Linked DNA regions of Homo sapiens: region 1 is linked to region 2. Evidence: promoter capture Hi-C in 16 types of primary human blood cells and fetal thymus (Javierre and others, 2016). All regions are on one chromosome and are shown on one strand. Each heading gives the region's core, a stretch centred on a gene start or on the middle of the fragment in contact. The rest is flanking DNA. Distances are from core to core; before and after follow the strand shown.

Evidence for each region. The method cuts DNA at HindIII sites, captures the fragments that hold promoters and counts their contacts. A CHiCAGO score of 5 or more calls a contact.
Region 1: a contact is called between a fragment that was not itself captured here and the fragment with the promoter of FAM120C in region 2, in 11 of 17 cell types (fetal thymus, activated CD4 T cells, naive CD8 T cells and 8 more). The highest score is 13.1, in fetal thymus.

What each region holds. Positions count from the first base shown.
Region 1 is chrX:54,807,068-54,810,687 of GRCh38, forward strand. It overlaps MAGED2 (MAGE family member D2), which reads left to right and starts at 678. Exons shown (of 13, transcript NM_177433.3): 1 at 678-735; 2 at 2,236-2,309; 3 at 2,655-3,146. The coding sequence starts at 2,265. The HindIII fragment of the contact is 578 bases long and covers 2,082-2,659 here.
Region 2 is chrX:54,180,169-54,185,720 of GRCh38, forward strand. It overlaps FAM120C (family with sequence similarity 120 member C), which reads right to left and starts at 3,086. Exons shown (of 16, transcript NM_017848.6): 1 at 2,332-3,086. The coding sequence starts at 3,030. RefSeq lists silencers at 2,579-2,628, 2,639-2,848, 3,419-3,518. The HindIII fragment of the contact is 3,156 bases long and covers 1,463-4,618 here.

The DNA.
Region 1 (3,620 bases), core at 1,121-3,620, 630 kb after region 2:
TTTAGGAGTAAGTTGACAAATTTTGCATCAAAATGGAAGACTTTTTTGTAGCATTTGAGCTAGCAAAAAATACCATAAATAACAAAAAGTGCACCAAGCAATCTAAATGTACATGTGTACTGGACTGGTTCAATAAATTATGGGACATCTATGCAAGAAAAGATCATGCAGCTGTTTAGAAAAATGTGCACTAACGGAAAGATGTTTTATATATAACTGGAAAAAAACAGGTCGCAGAACAGAAGGTATGTATAGTGTACCATTTGTCGGAGAGAGAACCTGAATAATTAGTATACGAATAGAAAAAAAATCTGGATAGCAAAATGTTAATAGTGGTTATTTCTGGGAGATGAGTGGCCTTTCATTGGTGTGTTATATATTACTGCATTGTTTGAATTTTTACAACAACAACAAAAGAACAACATATTACCTTTGTAATAAGAAAAAATGAAGATATAAAAATAAATTCAATGAATGACTTGCTTTCAGGGGGCGGTTTGAGTTGGAAGAGCTTCAGACTGAGCCTGGTACAGTGGCATAAACATGGGCTTTGGCGTCAGACAGCCCTGAGCGGGGCCCCATTGCCCCACCCCCGAGGAAGGCGAGGGGGGGTGGCAGGGGGCTGCGGAAAGGGGCTGGGCTGGGTTGGGCTGTCTGCAGCTCTAGTCCAGGAGGCTGAGACTTCGAGAGGGACTTAGAGAAGGCAGACGCATCCCGAACTCGCTGGAGGACAAGGTGAGGGGCGTTGATATTGGGGTTTTATGGAGGTCAGACAGTGGTTCCAGACCCCTCGAACCCATAGCCAGGCAGATGAGCAATTCTTACTGCACCACTGCAGCTGAAGCAGAGGTGACCTGGAGTGGGGTGTAGGCAATGAGGACGACTGAGAAAGTAGTAGGCTGTACAGACTGGGAGCAGAGACTAGCGGAGGGAGGAGGGGAGAAAAACGGGGAACCAGGAATGTTGGGAGGGGGACGAGGAATACAAGGAGGGAGGGGAACACTGAGGGGGAGTGAAGATCCAGAGAAGAGAATCGGGGATGCAGAGAGGGATTAAGGAATACTGAGGGGCAGGGTGTGCAAACGTAACACGGAGGAGGATGTAAGAAATGGGAAGAAGGAATTCTGGAGTAAATAGGAAATGTGAGGTAGGAATAGGGAGTAGGGAGCCAGGCTAAGGGAATACGGAGGGGGGCATAAGGAATGAGGAGCAGGGAGCGGGGGAGGGGCAGACAGGCTGGGACGGAGGCCCCCTAGGGAGGCGGAAAGGGGCGGGACCACTTCCGGCCTAGAGAGGGGAGGGCAGTCTCCGAGTTTCGGAGGGGCTTGGAGTGAGTGGACGCACTCGGGAATTGTAGGAGGACGAGGTGAGCAGCCGGGTCGGCTTTTGGATGAGAGCCCCGCTAGGGGTCGGCCCCACCCTCTGGGATCTGGAGAAAACCTGCCTTAAGGACCGGATCGTACCGGATCCATCCGGCTGGGAAGGGAGGGGACTGGACCCGGTTTGGCCGGGCCCAAGATGGAATCACTAGCTCAGTATTTATTTGAGGAGGGGGTGTAATAGGGAAGGGGCGGAACCAAGATGCGCCTGTTTGGAGGGGGGCGTGTTAGGAAGAAGGGCGGGGCCAAGAGACACTGGACTCTGTAGGGCGTGAGTAGGGGAGGGGCCGGGTCCACCAGACACTGCGACAATTTTGGAGGAAGGCTTGTTGGGCAGGGGGCGGGACCGAATGGTACTGCGGACCTGGAGAGGGGCGTGTGTTGGGGCAGAGTGCCAGACTGAGACCACGACCATTGCGCATGCGCACTATGTTTCGCTAGAAAGGGGCGTGTTGAGAAGGGCCAGCACTGAGAAGAGCCAGCTGCTGAATGCGCATGTGCACGGTGGACATCAAAGAAAGGGCTCGTGCTGGGAAAGCGGGCGGGGCTGAGAGCGGCCCTGCAGCCGACGCGCATGCGCTCTATCGACCTGCGGCTGGGTGGGGGGTGCACTGGGAAAAGGGGCGGGGTCCTCAGAGCTGCCGCGCTGGCACATCTTCCTGGAGAAGGGGAGGGTGCGGCTGCAGAGAATTGAGACTTAGAAGCTTTGAATTCCTGTATCTGAGAACGGAGTCGTTGGGGGTGGTGGAGGGGGTTGGAATTGGGGACCTACGGAAGGTGAGGATCAGCCTCCAGGCACAACAGGGGAGAGGACGTTCAGTGGGCTTCAACTTGACCCAGGCCTTCTCCCCTTCAGGCTCAGCTCTTGCCAGGCCAAATTGAGACATGTCTGACACAAGCGAGAGTGGTGCAGGTCTAACTCGCTTCCAGGTAAGGCCTCTTTCTGTCCTTTCCCCAGCTGCTTTTCCTCTCCAGCCCTTGTTGCTGCCCCCAAGTCCCTTGGCTCTTCCCCTCCCATCCTTGTCCTTCTCCACCTACTTTCCTGCCTGGGTGTCCCCCTGCCCAGTGGAGGGAGGGAGAGAAGGTGGGCGGGCCCCTCTTCTGCCATCAGTTCTTGCTCAGAGGAAAGGGAGGCCTTGTTGGGCTGAGGTGGTCAGAGCACACCGCAGGTAGGAGTCAGTACAGGTCAGAGAAGTGTGGCCTTGGAATTTTGGAGCCATTTGCTTAGTTGGGGGTGAGGAGAAGGTCTATGAACTTCCCTGCTTCCTCTTGCAGGCTGAAGCTTCAGAAAAGGACAGTAGCTCGATGATGCAGACTCTGTTGACAGTGACCCAGAATGTGGAGGTCCCAGAGACACCGAAGGCCTCAAAGGCACTGGAGGTCTCAGAGGATGTGAAGGTCTCAAAAGCCTCTGGGGTCTCAAAGGCCACAGAGGTCTCAAAGACCCCAGAGGCTCGGGAGGCACCTGCCACCCAGGCCTCATCTACTACTCAGCTGACTGATACCCAGGTTCTGGCAGCTGAAAACAAGAGTCTAGCAGCTGACACCAAGAAACAGAATGCTGACCCGCAGGCTGTGACAATGCCTGCCACTGAGACCAAAAAGGTCAGCCATGTGGCTGATACAAAGGTCAATACAAAGGCTCAGGAGACTGAGGCTGCACCCTCTCAGGCCCCAGCAGATGAACCTGAGCCTGAGAGTGCAGCTGCCCAGTCTCAGGAGAATCAGGATACTCGGCCCAAGGTCAAAGCCAAGAAAGCCCGAAAGGTAAGACCTCTGCAGTCACCACCCTTGGTTTTCTACTCCTCTCTCAGTTGATTCATTTGTTCTACAAACATTTAGAAAGATCCCTGTGCTCATCAGGGCTGTGGGGGGCACTGAGAGTAATGTGATGTAATTCCTGTCTTCAGAGAGCTTGCAGACTGATGGGGAGGTGCAATCTGAATGTAATGCAGTTTATGTTTACATAGTAGCTGCCCTGTATTAGGCCTTGAGCTAAGCACATTTATGCAGGTTATCTCATTAAATCTTGAAAGTAATTCTCATAGCCCCAATTTTATGGAGAAGGAAGCTGAGTTCCAGAGAGGTGAAGCGGCTTGTCTAGGATGGTTCAAGCAGAGCCAGTAGTGGGCACAGAAAGAGAAGAAGACTCAGCCTCCACCCACCCTTGGTTTGCTCCTGGCCTGCTAGGCAGATGAAACACCTGCTTGGAAGTCAGTGAGAAACAAATCCAGGGTTCAG
Region 2 (5,552 bases), core at 1,836-4,335:
CACAAACCCATACTCAAGTGTTCAACTCTCCTGCCAACCTCCAATCAAAATCTATTCAGAGCTCATAACTGGCTATTCGGGTCTCCACACCCTTGTCCGCTATCTGAACTATCTACAGCCCTCTTCATGGCTTAGCACCATCGGTGAAGCCTTCCCCAACTTTCACTCCCTTACTCAAAATTAACCATGCCCCCTATAGGGGCCACATTTTTCATCACTTGCAATTAGCCCACAGTATCTGCAATTTATTATCTCTTTCACTAAACCTTGTCCTCCTTGAGGACGGGATCCCCTTATTTACCTCTCAGTCCTCAGCAAGCAGCTAGTACTTAGCCTACAGCAAGCACTCAAATAAAAAAGTAAGTGAATGACCTGAACACGTCTTTACCCAGGAGCCAAGGAAGAGTTTAGCTGAGTGGGGAAATGATCTAATCACAGTGGCACTTTAGAAAGATTCATTTTAGAGCAGCACTGTTGTTTAGAGTATGAGCTTTGGAGGAAGACCACATAGGCACAAATCTCAGCCCTGCCACTTATCTCTGGGTGACTTTGGGCAAGTTTCTAAGCCCGTGCCTCAGTTTCCTCATTTGGAAAACAGGGATAATACTGCTTTCATAGGTTATTGCGAGGATGATGAGGTAATTTTTTTTAAAAGAAGTGCACAGATCGACACCTAAAACATAGTAAATATTCCATCAATGTGGTCACTATTGCCAGCAACCAGGTTAATAACAACGAGGTTAAAAAGTCCTTAAAAGCCTGGGTGGTAGCAGTGAAAACAAAGTGGAAAGAATGGCCATGAATAAAGAATCTACCTTAAAATGTTCAGTCAGAAGAGCAAGCAAATGTGTGCCTTTTTTTTTTTTTTTAACCTTGTATGAGATAGCTCACGTTTGGATTAGTTTAAATTAAAACAACTATAATCTAGGCACTCTAGGCACAGATTTGATGCTGAGAACGAGTCTAGCATGACTGGACTCTAGCCACAAGCTCTATAACCACTGCAAGCTTCTCTGTTTAGGTCTTTTAGTCTCTGAGCTAAAATTTCTTTCCTCCTCATTACTCCAGCCGACACCACTTCTTAAGTGATTCCCACAATCCCCTGTTCTGTCTAACTGTAAGGACAACCCCCAAGAACCTTGGTTGGGGAAATAGGTTTGCGGTTTCTTTCTACCCAACCCTGTACTACTTTTCTTTTTCTTCTTCCTGCCCACCTCCTTTACTTCCCAAGCCTTGCTATTCTCTACACGTAGGAACTTGAAACCTAAGAGTATGGGAAAGCAACAGAGCAGCAGCAGTGGTGCCAAGAACTGGGGATGCTGCCAAGCTGTTCCCCAGGCCCCATATGCAGTGACCCAACTACATGCAGATTGGACTTAACTGCCTATGGGGCCTTGCACACTTAATATTCCTTTTTGCTTCTGCTCATTTTCTTCCTCCCACTTAAAGCAGCCTCCTCCCAAGCTTGTGACTCATTCAAATCCAATCCACCTTTGAAGACCCAGGTGAGGTCCGACTTCTTCAGGGAAGCCTCCCCTGACCACTTTAGTCCAAAGATATCCCACCACTCCCACATACAGAAAACAGGAACTGTACTTACTGTCTGGACCATAAGGCATAATCACATACACATTGCTATAATTAAATGTTTCATGTGTATACATTTAACTTTCCAAGGGCATGAGCAGTGTCTCACATGTCTTTAAAACCCTTACACTCAGTGAGTTAATACTTGCTGAACAGTGACTGAATCAGTGGGTTTTTATGTGTTTAGGCTAAGGCAGGAGGAAGAAGATGCATGTTGAAATGAAAAAGGCTGAATGGACACAGATGGGTAAAAAAGCAGCAGTGGGTGAAGACGGAAAAACAATGTAGAAGAAAGGTGTTCAGTTCACACCTGCTTAAGTGATTTACTGCGAGGTTGGAAAGAGATACAGGAGAGAGATGTCAACTGGCAAAAGCAGGGTAAAGGCATTTCAGTTTGAGGCAGAAGACACCAGGAGAAAGATGAGGCTACAAAAGAAATTCTGACTAGATTCTGCTGAAACCTAGTGGTAGGCCAATTGGATAAGGGAAGCTAAAGGGAGCTACTGGGATGACATGAGTAGAGATATGGCCATGTAGGTGAGTGAATCCGTAGGGGGTGGTATGAAGGGGGAGGTAAATGGATAAAATGGTAGAGGGTAGTTAGGCAGGTAGGTTAGCTGTTGGGCGGGTAGGTGGGTGGGTAGATGGGAGGTAGGGTAGTGGGTAAGTGGGTAGGTGGTTAGGTATTTAGTTGGGAGGGAATAGGTGTGGGGCTTATTATTTAAGATCCGGCCCCTCCCTCACCTTGACCCGGAAGCGGATGAGTGCTAGCCTCACGCAGTGGCTCAGGCAGGCCGGTGGCAGGAACCAGGCCCGCGGTGGAGGGGTGCCCTTGTTGCCCACGTGTCCCACGATCAGTTGCGCTGTCTGCCGCTCGGCCTGGCACCGACGGCCCCACTCGGCCAGCCGGTCCTTGCCCAGGCCCCCCGGGAACATGACCACGAGCTCCAGGCCGTCGCCGCCAGGATAGGCACAAGCCTGGCACAGCGCTGACAAGTAGCCCAGCATGGCGTTCCATTGGCCGCCACACACCCAATCCGTCTGGTAGCCGCCATAGAGCCGCGGCAGCGCCGAGCCGGCGTCCACCAGCACCCGGGCCCCGGGCAGCTGAGGGGGCGGCGGCGGCGGCAGCGGAGGGTGCAGCCCGGGCTGCGCTTGGCCATGATGGTGGAAGTGGTGAGCGGGGTGATGGTGCCGAGTCGGCCCCGCGCCCCCGGAGTAGGCACCCAAGGCAGCGGGCGGAAGCGGCGGTTGCAGAGGCACGGAGCCCCTGGCGGCGCGTGGAGCCCCGGGCGCTAGGGCTGCAGTCGGCGGCAGCTGGCGGTGCAAGTGCTGCTGCTGCTGCTGGCGCGAGACCGTGCGCGCGAGTTTTAGGAGGTCCACGGGCACCACGGCCCCGGGACAGCGCTTCTCCAGGAACTCTTGGAAGCCCTGGACACCCATGCTTCGTCGGTGGGCAGACGCGATAGCGGCTGCGCAAGCAGGATAGGCGACGATCTGGGCGCGAAGCTGGGGGCGGGCGCGTGCGCACTCCGCGGGGGGCGAGGGGGGGCGGGAAAAGGATTCCCGAGGGGAGGGGTGAGGAAGCGAGGGAATGAGGGCGGGGAGGGGAGGAGACCACAAATTGGATTTGGGTAGAGAGAAGGGGAGGGGCAGACCGGACCCGGGAGAGGCTGGGAGGATAAAAGCGAGGATGGGCTCTAGTCACTTCTCTTTTTTCTCCTTTCCGGCCGCTCTTCTTCCCGCTTTAGAAGGGGTGAAGCCTCTTTCTTCCACCTCCGGGAGCCATGTTGCCTCGTCTTCTCGGTGGTACACGCTTTCTAGCTGGAGGAAGGGGAGCGAGGAGGGGCGGGGCGGGGCGGGGAGAGGGGCATCTTGGTAGTTGTAGTCTTCTCTATGGCCTTAGGATATAGTCGAGGAACCAGACTACCACCCTTCTCAGCCCTTGTGCTCACAGGGTCACAGGAAGCGGGGCGTGATGATGAGTGTTTAGGAGTTGCACTCCAACTCCTTGCATCTCACTGAGTTGCTTAGGTTATTTACTGCTTTTTCCTGGAAAAAGAGTTTTGGGGGATGGATTGATGCATCATGGGAATGGAAGTTAGAGTGGATTGACTGAATTCAGCTAAAGTGAGCTAAAACTCCCCAGGAGGGAGGATTTTCCCCTTAGTGGAAAGATAATATTTAAAGAGCTGTTGGTCCCAATTAAGAAAGACGTAACTGGTCGGGCGCGGTGGCTCACGCCTGTAATCCCTCCGAGGCGGGCAGATCACGAGGTTAGGAGATCGAGACCATCCTGGCCAACATGGTGAAACCCCGTCTCTACTAAAAATACAAAAAGTAGCCGGGCGTGGTGGCACGTGCCTGTAATCCCAGCTACTGGGGAAGCTGAGGCAGGAGAATCGCTTGAACCTGGGAGGCGGAGGTTGCAGTGAGCCAAAATCATGTCACCGTACTCCAGCCTGGTGACAGAGCCAGACTCCGTCTCAAAAATAAATAAATAAATAAAAAGAAACTTACATTATTTACTTGCCTAAGGCAATGCAGAGACAAAGTTAAATCGAATATCCTTGCCCTCAGCATCTCTTTGGGCAGGGAGATAATTACCAACACAAATTACATTACAAATTGTACCTTTTTGGTACTCCTAGATCCACTATGTCCTATGGTTAGGGCCTTTGGTTTCCAAACTTCATTGTGTTTTAGTCTGTCGGGAGCTTTTCTAAATAGCTGCAAGGGCTCTAATTTCAGATGTATGGAGTCATAATCTTTTGAAAAATGTATTTTCAACATACTGAGATGAAACAGATGCAGTGCCTGTCTTCTTTCTGGCTTTTAGGGCCGGCCCACTCTTTCAGCAGGAATAAAGCAGAAAACAAGATCTGAAATGAGTAGTAGCCAGATCTGGCTTGGAACTTACTGGAAGATGGGAGATAATGGCAGGCAGAGTTAGAATGCAGAAGTGCAGAACCCAAGAGTGATCGGGATGAATGAGATAGGGGAATACTCTATTAGGATGCAAAAGCAAAAAAGCTTCAAGCTACATAAAAGAAATTATAAAATAGTGGAGATGGAACAAGCCAGATTGTCAAAGAATAAGTAGATGGCAAGGCAGTGTACATAGTTAACTCTTGAAAGCAAGCAGTGAAAGGAGAGAGCAGTGGCTTGAAGGGATGAAGGATGGAAGGAATGGAGGTTTTTTAGTATAATGGACACGTGTGGGACGGTCTGCCCAGCCCCTCTTTTCCGGGAATTGACCCTCCACCTTCCCCCATTTATAGGGTTATGGCAAAAACTGTCGTGTTCCTATAACCATAGCTTATTGGGTCAGAGGTGGGCAGCTAATCCAACCTGGGGCAATCAAAATCTCATTTTCTAGAAATTTGCAATTAGACAAGAGATACCAGCTTTTCTCTAAGTGTAAAGCTTGGAAGCTGTCAACCAATTTTCCCACCAGAGGGACAGAAGTGAAAGATGCTGGTCTGCAGAAAGAGAGAAAAAATGCAGACTTTCAGAGAAGAACAAAGGTGAGAAATAGAGTCTTCATTGTGTTCAATTCCCAGCTTCCAGATAATGCAGTGGTGTGATTACAGCTCGCTGCAGCCTCGACTTCAGCCTCAGCCTCCTGAGTAGCTTGGGACTACAGACACATGCCACCATGCCTGAATAATTTTATTTTTTGTAGAGACCCTAAAATGTAGAACAGATAGAGATCAGAGACCTCTGCATCAGTTGATAGGAAGGAAGTTGGCATTCTGTGTTATTTGGCAGTGAAGCATTTGCTTATTGCTCTTGGGACTCAAAACAGCAGCCCCTTTTGCTTATAACAAGAGATCTGCATTTGCTGAGGGTCAGATATTCATTGGCCTTGCTGAATTACAGCAGAATCTCAATTTTGTCTCAAAGGTTTCACCAGTTAGGAAACTGGCATCAAGGCAATTGGAACGAAGTTATCTATATCTGCC